3 separate regions of the Homo sapiens genome follow, and all the other regions are linked to region 3. The links are contacts of gene promoters, found by promoter capture Hi-C in blood cells and fetal thymus (Javierre and others, 2016). All regions are on one chromosome and are shown on one strand. The core of a region is centred on a gene start or on the middle of the fragment in contact, and the rest is flanking DNA. Distances in the headings are between cores, read along the strand shown. Region 1 overlaps ZFAND1 (zinc finger AN1-type containing 1). Region 2 holds the start of MRPS28 (mitochondrial ribosomal protein S28). Region 3 holds the start of PEX2 (peroxisomal biogenesis factor 2).

Region 1 (2,861 bases), core at 29-2,528, 4.7 Mb after region 3:
GTCTATAACTATACTGAATATCAATAATCAATGGCTAAAGTAACAATTATTTTAAATCATTCTACTTTTCAGAAATAACCTCATATTAATAAACACTAAAATTACTCCCAAATCCTGCATAAAAACTTAACTTACCAAAATATTCCTGAACAATCATCACACACAAATGGAAGAAAATCTAAAATTGAGAGAAAATGTATATACTGGTCAGTATCTGATTTTGATTTAGTTTTCTTAAGCAAGAAGACAACCTCTATGGAAAAACTTCCCATTTTGACTAATATCCTAGTGTAGCAAGCACTATGTAACCACTCTAACAAAATTAATCACAACTTCAATAACTGACAGAAAGTAATTGGATTAACATAAGGTATTAATAGATGTTACTTGTAACTTTACTAAGTCAGACAAAAATAAGTTCTAGTGGTTTTCTTTTTCTTTTTTGTTTTGTTTCCCAGATTTACTAGGTGTTGTTTTTGATGACTGTATACTGCAAAAATTCCGCATTTGGAGTGAAAAACCTGGGATTCAATTCTGATTCCACTGCTTACTAATCTAACAGTGCTAGGCAAGTTACTTAACAGTAAAACTTTGGATATATATATTTTTATATATATCCAATAAATATATATATTTATATCTGTGTACTAATATATATGTGTGTGAACAACATATATATATATATATCGCCAAAGCTTGACTATATTCAAATATATTTATATTTATATATACACCTATAAGATTTATGGTATTTCAAATATATATAATTTGATGTAATATATAGTACAGTTAGTATAAAGTATATGTGTGTGTGTTTCTATATATGTATGTAAATAAACATATACAAAACCAAAGCTCTTTTATTGGGTAAGAAAAATAGAAAGATATAGACAGGTAGATACAGAGACAGATATAAAGATACAAGCACATCCTTTCTGTGTATATATGTATATGTGTGTATGCATGTGTATCTATATCTGTATCTATGCTGTATGCCACACCGACCTCACAGTGTACTTACAGAAACCAAATGAGATATATATGAAAGATCAGAATAGTAATACAGTAACTATAATTAATAAGAATAATACAACAATTAACTTCTTTTGAGTATACTCAACTCAGAACAGTACTGCAAGGGGCCAGGCACAGTGGCTTAAGCCTGTAATCCCAGCACTTTGGGAGGCCGAGGGGGGCGGATCACCTGAGGTCAAGAGTTTGAAAACAGCCTGGCCAACATGGCGAAACCCCATCTCTACTGAAAACACACACACACACACACACACACACACACACACACACACACACAAATTAGCTGGGCGTGGTGGTTCATGCCTGTAATTCCAGCTACTCAAGAGGCTGAGGCAGGAGAATCGCTTGAATTCAGGAGGCAGAGGTTGCAGAGGGCCGAGATCGCGCCACTGCACTCCATCCTGGGTGACAGAGCCAGACTCCATCTCAAAACAAAACAAACAAACAAACAAAAAAGGACAATACTGCAGTGACTGGGTGGAGATGCTTAATATTTTGCGACTTTTAATAATCAAGTATTAGATGCAAACCAGAAGGACCCAGGGGAAAGAGTTAAGTCAAGACAACTTCCCAGCACCTGATACCATCCTTCAATCCCTCCAGAAGGTAGATAAAATTTAGGATATACACTTGACGTAGTCTAAATCTTAACTGCTTTCCACTAGTCCCAAACAGATAGGCCTGGCCTCATCTCAGTTATTGACACTAAAGACATATATAGCTGGAAAGGAAAATGAACTATGTCATGAATGGCATATAATGTGTATTGGACTCACTAGCGAAGGATCAGGCATAGACACACATAATTCACAGTCAAAACCCAAATGGCTAAGCTTCCACATGAAAAAAGTCACACTGGCTTGTTATTACAGCCAGTGGTGAAAGATAGATAGATAGATGGCTATAAGTAACAAGAACCTAGAAGGGATTGTGTCACCTGTCCTATCACGCATTCCCACAGTAGAAATCACTAATCAATTATGGAACTCCACTGAAACTGGGCTAAATCTCAAGAGTCTTTGACACGGTAATTCAGGCACTTGATACCAATGACTGAAGTTCCAAGGGGAGATTAAACCTGTTTGCTACCTTATGTAGTGTGTGAAACCTAGTAACAACGACTGAGCAGTCTGTGTGGTTCTAATGCTTCAAAAACTTGCCTTTTCAAGGTGTATGGCATCCTGAAGCCAATGCCACATCACCTTGGACTAGGTATATCCCAAGGTCTCTCAGTGCAATGGGGAGAGCCCATTGCCATATTATTAACTAATTCTCTCTAAAATGCAGCTTACTAGTTGGAAAGGTCTTCCGTGTAAAAGACTGTAGTTTACACCCTTATGTGGTCCAAGCACCAAAATCAATAATCTGTAAATGTTTGTTCAAACAATAATAATGAGAATCAGGGAATGACAGAGCTGGGAGAGCATGATGACCATTTGGTGGAATAATCTGAGGATCAGGATGCCTTTGAGAATTTGATAAAAGCTAAGGAAGGGCCTTCTTCCGGACACACATCCACGTGAACACTAGTTGGGCGAGTTGACCTCCCCCAACTCCTCCTGACAGCTACGTAACAGATAAGTAAAAAAAAGTATGGGAAAGTAGCTGGCCGTAGGTCGCAGTGGCAAAGCCAAAAGACAACAGTCCCAGACCAAACCTACGCGTCCCCATACCCGCGCTCAGCAGAGTAAGTGTGAGCCACGCGATCCAGCAGTGGGCTTCGTGCACTGCTCGGACACGGCACACTCGAACACCAAAATGAACACTGCAAGGTACGTTTTCAGGAATTGCATGGCTTCCTTCCAAGGAGACCACACGTCATTTCAAAA
Region 2 (2,700 bases), core at 113-2,612, 3.0 Mb after region 3:
CAGTGAACTGAGATCATGCCACCACACTCCAGCGTGGGTGACAGAGCGAGACCCTGTCTCAAAAAACAACAAAACAAACAAAAAAATCCAAAAAACAAAAAAGTAGAAAACAGAGGCAGAAAAGACAGGCCAGGAAGAGATTCTCCTAGAAGCTACGGAAAAGAACACAACTTCACCAACACCTTGATTTTAGACCAGTGAGATCCCGTCTGACTTCTCACAACCCTAACAACAACACATTTCCTGTGTTTTACGCCACTAAATTTGTAGTAATTTGTTACAACAGAAAATAATAAACTAATATACCAGGCTTCTTCTAGTCCTTGGATTTCAGAAAAATTTTGACATCAGTAATTGCTACTAAAATGACCCTATAACCCAGGACACTGCCAGTCTTGTGAACTGTTTGGTACTACTCCCTAGGAAGAAAAATACAGAAATTGAGAGTTTATTTGTATATAATTCAATTTCATGTCTGCTGAGTTTAATTATTAAAAACTTAGGCTTGTAATTTTATTTCTTCCATTTCATTTATCTATAAATTTATGGTATTTTACAAAAGTACTGGCTGAGACAAACGGAGATTTTACTTTACTTTTTAAAAAAAGAAGACATTTACAAAAGAGAGGTGAAGCGCTGACAAGTTAAATCACTTGCCCAAGTTCAGAAAGTGATTCATCACCCAGTCATTAAATTAACAAATGTTTATGAAGGGCCTTCTACTCCAGACAGCAAGCTCCATGCTAGAGCTACTGTTCAGAACAAGACCCAGCAGAGCCCTGCCTCTCCGTGTGAGTCCCATTCTCCTTAGCGTCCCAGGAATCGCCCTAGATCGCCTCCCCAGCAGCGCTCCCCGCTGGTTACCTTCCCACCAGCATTCAATCCCAGGAAAACAAGCGCAGTGTGGACAGACCCGGCCCAGTACGCAAATGCCACACAAAAGGACAACGAAAGGAAGAAAAACACCAAGCACAGATTCTAGGGGCCGAGGGCTGAGCCACAACGCACCGCAACTCCGGAAAACTGGGCCCCGGACCTCAGCTCCCCTTCCTAAGCCAGGCTCCGCCCCTATTCCCGACCCCGCCCACCGCGTCGTTGGCGTAATTCCCGCGACTCCCTCTCACCCGCCCGGGCTCCACCTTCTGTAGGGGCTCCACCTTCTGTAGAAGCTCCGAGTGCCGCTCCAACGCGCTCGCGAAACCGCCTGCGCGCGTCTTAGGCTCCTTGGCATTGGAACTACCACTTTCGGATCCACTCTCAGTGCCTACACCCCGAAAGGGCCTGAAGAAGAGAAACACTCGCAGAAAATGGCTCTCGGCAGCCACAGCACGGGTCCGACACAGCGCCGCCATGACTTCTTTACCTCTGACCTTTGACCTCCCCTCCGCAAGCGCGCGGGTCACGGGGCGGAGCTATGAGAGGTCCGCCCCCCGGACGCAGAGCTCTGGAGGCCAACGAGGCGTGTCTTCCTTTCATCTGGGAGTGGCGTGGGGAAGAAGAGACTTAAGCTAAAATTGGTGGGCTAAATAGTTGGAAAGGGGCCTGGTTAAGTTTTGCGTTAGAAGTGCGTTTAACTTGCAGGAATTTCGCCTTCCTGGGCATCCGTTGGACCCCATTGTACTGTAAATTCTGCTAACGCGACGCTCGTTCTCCCGCCCTGCCGTCCCCCCTACATGGCCGCCAGCACTCGAGTTTGGGGTCTTCACTCAAATATGAGGGTCTCCTTGATTACCCTATTTAGAAGTGGAAGCCCAAATGCAGACTCTCTGGCACCTGTTTTTCTTAGTACCATGTAGCACTTTCTAATATGCCACATATTAATATTAAATATTTAATAATATTTAGTGTCTACTCCCAACTTTTTAAACTTTGAAAAGAGGAACTTTGCTGTAGGGTCCCTAGCACCAGGCACAGATTAGGGCTCACCCAACATTTGCCAAACCCTGCATCCAAGTTTGTCCTTTGCCACTTCTGCAGCCAGTCCACTCACGCCACAAAAATAGTTTTTCTGAAATGTTTTGACACCTCTAGATACCTATTATCTAACTTAGGAGTTCAGAAGTTTTGGAATGTCCCTAAGTATTGCACCGCCGTAGGCCCCCACCCTCACTCTGGATTTTCTTTCCCTTTTCTCCTGCAGTGTTAATTCCCAAAATTTACCCACCCTGTTCAAAACAGCCTAACATCATTCTTAAGTGTTTATTAATTAGTTGTCCGTCTATCTTTGACCCAGCAGTTTAATATTAATCCACAGTTAGTTTTATTTTGGGGGCACACACCTTTCCAGTTCATTTGCAAGTACTTCGAGAGAAAGAATTTTTATGATCACAGACCCTATTTTAAGAATGCCTTGACTATGGGTTTTAAGCTTTTCTGATGCTCTCTAATGGTACAGATAGTGTTAAGAACACGAAGTACACTGATCTCAGAATGGTGCACAATTGTATGAATCACATAAAATTATTACTAGCTAACTGTATGGTAGTCCTTACAAATTCATTAAATTCTCCAGGTGAGTTCTCCCTCTTGGCAGTTAAAACTGTTTATCTCCCGAGACTATTAATGGACTCTTGCCTAGAACATTATTTTCTACGGATAGTGCTACTTCCACTTTTTTTCAGGAGAAAGTGTGGTAAATTGTAAAGAGCATGGCCAGTGGTCTTCAAGAACCCTCAGTCTGACTGGGCAGGGTGGCTTACA
Region 3 (2,884 bases), core at 62-2,561:
TTCTCCTATGGAACAGTTTTAAAACCCCAGCTTGAGTACTAACACTAGTTTCTAAAAATAAGGAGAATACGGCCAAGAGGTAAAATTGTACAAAGGCAACTAGAGTCAGGACTAGAATCCAACTGTCTTGATTTAGTCTAATACTCTTCAGTCTACTAGTCTAGTATTCGCTCTATGTCCTGTTACTTCTATTTTTTTTTTTAAGAAAAAAATATGAAGGGTTTTTTTTTTTGACTCTGTAAATAATTCTTTCAAATCTCTTTCTGGCTCAAGATCACTCAACTGTAATCTTTCTGGAAACAAGTAATTGATAATATAGGTGAGATCAGATAAGTTAAAAGAGCCACCCCAAGTTCATTCTGTTCAGGATTAAGTAAAGGTAACACTTTAGGGGAAGGTGTTTAGACTACAAGCTGCGGTGTTGTGAGCGCCCAAGTATCATTTAATTGTCCGAAACGTCAAGATAAAATATTTCCGAGGGGCATCACGGAAGTTTAACAGAATGTGTTAGACTTGAACGTTCAACAGCTTGCTCATTTTGCCAAAAGCCCTTTCACTAAATGTGGGAAATTTGGAAAATGGTACCTCAATAAATAAACAAACAACGATTTTTAATTTAAGAACCCAGGAAAAAATGTTAACAATTCTCACATTCAGATTTCTTATCAAAAGTCAACGTGAAATATAACTAATTTATCGCAAGCAATTTTATCAGAAACTTTTCATTATCTCTTCCTCCATAAGAAAACCAAACTGCATTTACGTGCGCTTTCAACAGTGTTAGAAAACTAAGCACTCAAATTTTTTGTACTACATATAACACTTTACATGAACTTTCAGATATTAAGTAAAGTTTGGATCCTCAATTCTTTATAAAGCCGTTTATAAGAGGTAAATATCTTCACGACCGCCAAATGAGAGAAAAAGATTTCGAAGTTCGTCTCTTAAGTTACTACGTGGAATGCAGAGGGGCTCAACTGCAGCTGTGTGTGTGTTTATTTTTAATGCCGCGATCCTAAAAACATCTTTAGGAGTTTAGGTTTGCTTCACTGCCTTTCCCAAAATTCAGCAGCTTTGATTTGCCTTTTCCAGGGAGACAGGAAGCCAATAAACAGGGAAAAAAAAGCAAACGGCGACAATTACAAGGTCGTGAAACTCCACGACCTCCCAGCTGAAAACAAGACCTCGGGTTTGCACTCCGGCTCTCTAGGGCAGACACTGACCTTAGGAGTCTGCGAAACGCCCACGCTCCACGTAACTTTCTCTGAAACATTCTCTGGAAAGCTTGTCTTTTCCTAGCCGAATCTGGATTACCAAGGCTTCCGGAACTCGCAGGCTTCCGGAGCGACGCAGGAGCCGGAAGTGGCTGAAAAAAAAAAGAAAAAGTTACACCAACGAGAACTGCGCTTTAGCGGCGCTGCTGAAGGCACTGGATGGCCAAACAACCGCGAACGCCGACAAGCCGAAGAGCCGAAGGGCCGAAAAGCCGAAGCGGACACCCGCGCGCGGTGATTGGCCGGTTGGCCGGAAGAACTCTGTCTCTGATTGGCAGGAGAGTCACGAACCGGTCAGCCCCGGGTCAGGGGCCGCAAGTGAGGACACTACAAGTGTCGAGGGGCCTAGGGGAAGCCGGGGCTTGGGAGGGCAGGGCTTTCTCTGCTTGCGGACATCGCGAAGGGCCTCTGGCAGGCGCCGCCGGGTGGCGGCGAGACGCCTCCGCGCCTCCGGGGTTCCTTGTTCGCTGTCGGAGGAGGACCGGCTGAGGGATGGCCTGGTGGGGAGGGAGCCCTCGGGCAGGTGGCTGCGTCGGGCCTGGGGCAGTTGTGCTGCGCTTGGAGACCTGCCCGCCCTCGGGGCCTGTGTGCACAGGGAGGATAGGCTGTTTATCTCTGCAGGCTCAGGAAGGCAGGTAGCTGGCCCGTCAGTCATCCGCCCTGCAAAGCGCTCCCGAGAGACCCCGTAGAGCGGGCCAGCGCGCGCCTGGCCTGAGGTTTCCCGCCCCCGGAGGCCCTCACATCTCCCCGGTAACGCTTAGGAATTCGGGCAGCCAGCTCGCCTACCCCTGGGGAATCGAGGCAGAGCTTCTGGGAATGGGGTCTGAGGGAAGAGTGCTCACCAGGCAGTGACATGTAGCCGTTGAGGATCGCCACTGCCTTCTCGTTCTGTGGTATGAATGGCAGTGTCTCTCTAGAGAGTTAGTGCTTAAGTTTGAATGATGGCAGGCACTTCAGGATTCCAGCACGTAGTAGGGTTTAAGAACGTCTTAGTTCTTACCTCCAGTCTCGACTCACCGTTCCTACAAGGAACACTCACTTCTACGAAAGCTCTATTAGACATTCGAGGGAGAGCTTATACTGTAGAACCAGTGTTATTAGGAAAGTTTTTTTTTTTTTGCTTGTATTTTTATTTCAGAAACTACCCATGGAGCAGAGTTGCTAAAATAAAATTTATTAACTCTAATGCTATCCAAATTGTGAAACAATGGTACAAATGAGATAGAGTAGAAGCTACAAATTGATAGAGTATGTAGTTCACTTAGGGGTTTGGGAGTGGATTTTCTAGAGCTGCAACTGTCCAGTGTAGTAGTCACTGGCCACCTGAAAAGTGGCTAGTCTGAACTGAGGTCTGCTCTAAGTGTAGAACATGCACCAGATTTCTAAAGCGTGGTCTGAAAAGAAAAAGAATGTAAAGTATTTCATTAATTTTATATTGCTTACATGTCAAAATGAGAATGTTTTGGAAAATTTTAAATTACGTGGCTTCCATTATATTTCTATGGATACTGCTGTTCTAGAGAGTAAAAAAATCTCACTGAAGAAGAGTAGGCCTTTCGTTTAGCAACTGTGAAGAAAACCAACCACGCTGCACCTCTCAGGTAGCCTAC

What was found. Contacts are between HindIII fragments. The CHiCAGO score rates a contact against its expected background, and 5 or more counts as called.
Region 1: a fragment that was not itself captured here is called in contact with the fragment with the promoter of PEX2 in region 3 in 3 of 17 cell types (total B cells, non-activated CD4 T cells and naive B cells); the score reaches 10.6 in total B cells.
Region 2: the fragment with the promoter of MRPS28 here is called in contact with the fragment with the promoter of PEX2 in region 3 in 8 of 17 cell types (total CD8 T cells, non-activated CD4 T cells, naive CD8 T cells and 5 more); the score reaches 13.3 in total CD8 T cells.

Annotation. Positions count from the first base shown.
Region 1 is chr8:81,718,047-81,720,907 of GRCh38, forward strand. It overlaps ZFAND1 (zinc finger AN1-type containing 1), which reads right to left. Exons shown (of 8, transcript NM_024699.3): 2 at 136-178. Among named protein-coding and RNA genes, the nearest start is that of ZFAND1, 1.8 kb to the right of the region's middle. RefSeq lists an enhancer at 2,288-2,861 and a silencer at 2,750-2,861. The HindIII fragment of the contact is 1,170 bases long and covers 694-1,863 here.
Region 2 is chr8:80,028,897-80,031,596 of GRCh38, forward strand. MRPS28 (mitochondrial ribosomal protein S28) reads right to left here and starts at 1,363. Exons shown (of 3, transcript NM_014018.3): 1 at 1,140-1,363. The coding sequence starts at 1,352. All of the region lies in intron 5 of TPD52-MRPS28 (TPD52-MRPS28 readthrough), which reads right to left. It also overlaps a transcript of TPD52 not described here. RefSeq lists an enhancer at 1,086-1,515. The HindIII fragment of the contact is 3,845 bases long and covers 1-2,366 here.
Region 3 is chr8:76,998,767-77,001,650 of GRCh38, forward strand. PEX2 (peroxisomal biogenesis factor 2) reads right to left here and starts at 1,312. Exons shown (of 4, transcript NM_000318.3): 1 at 1,224-1,312. RefSeq lists an enhancer at 1,307-1,601. The HindIII fragment of the contact is 1,935 bases long and covers 1,283-2,884 here.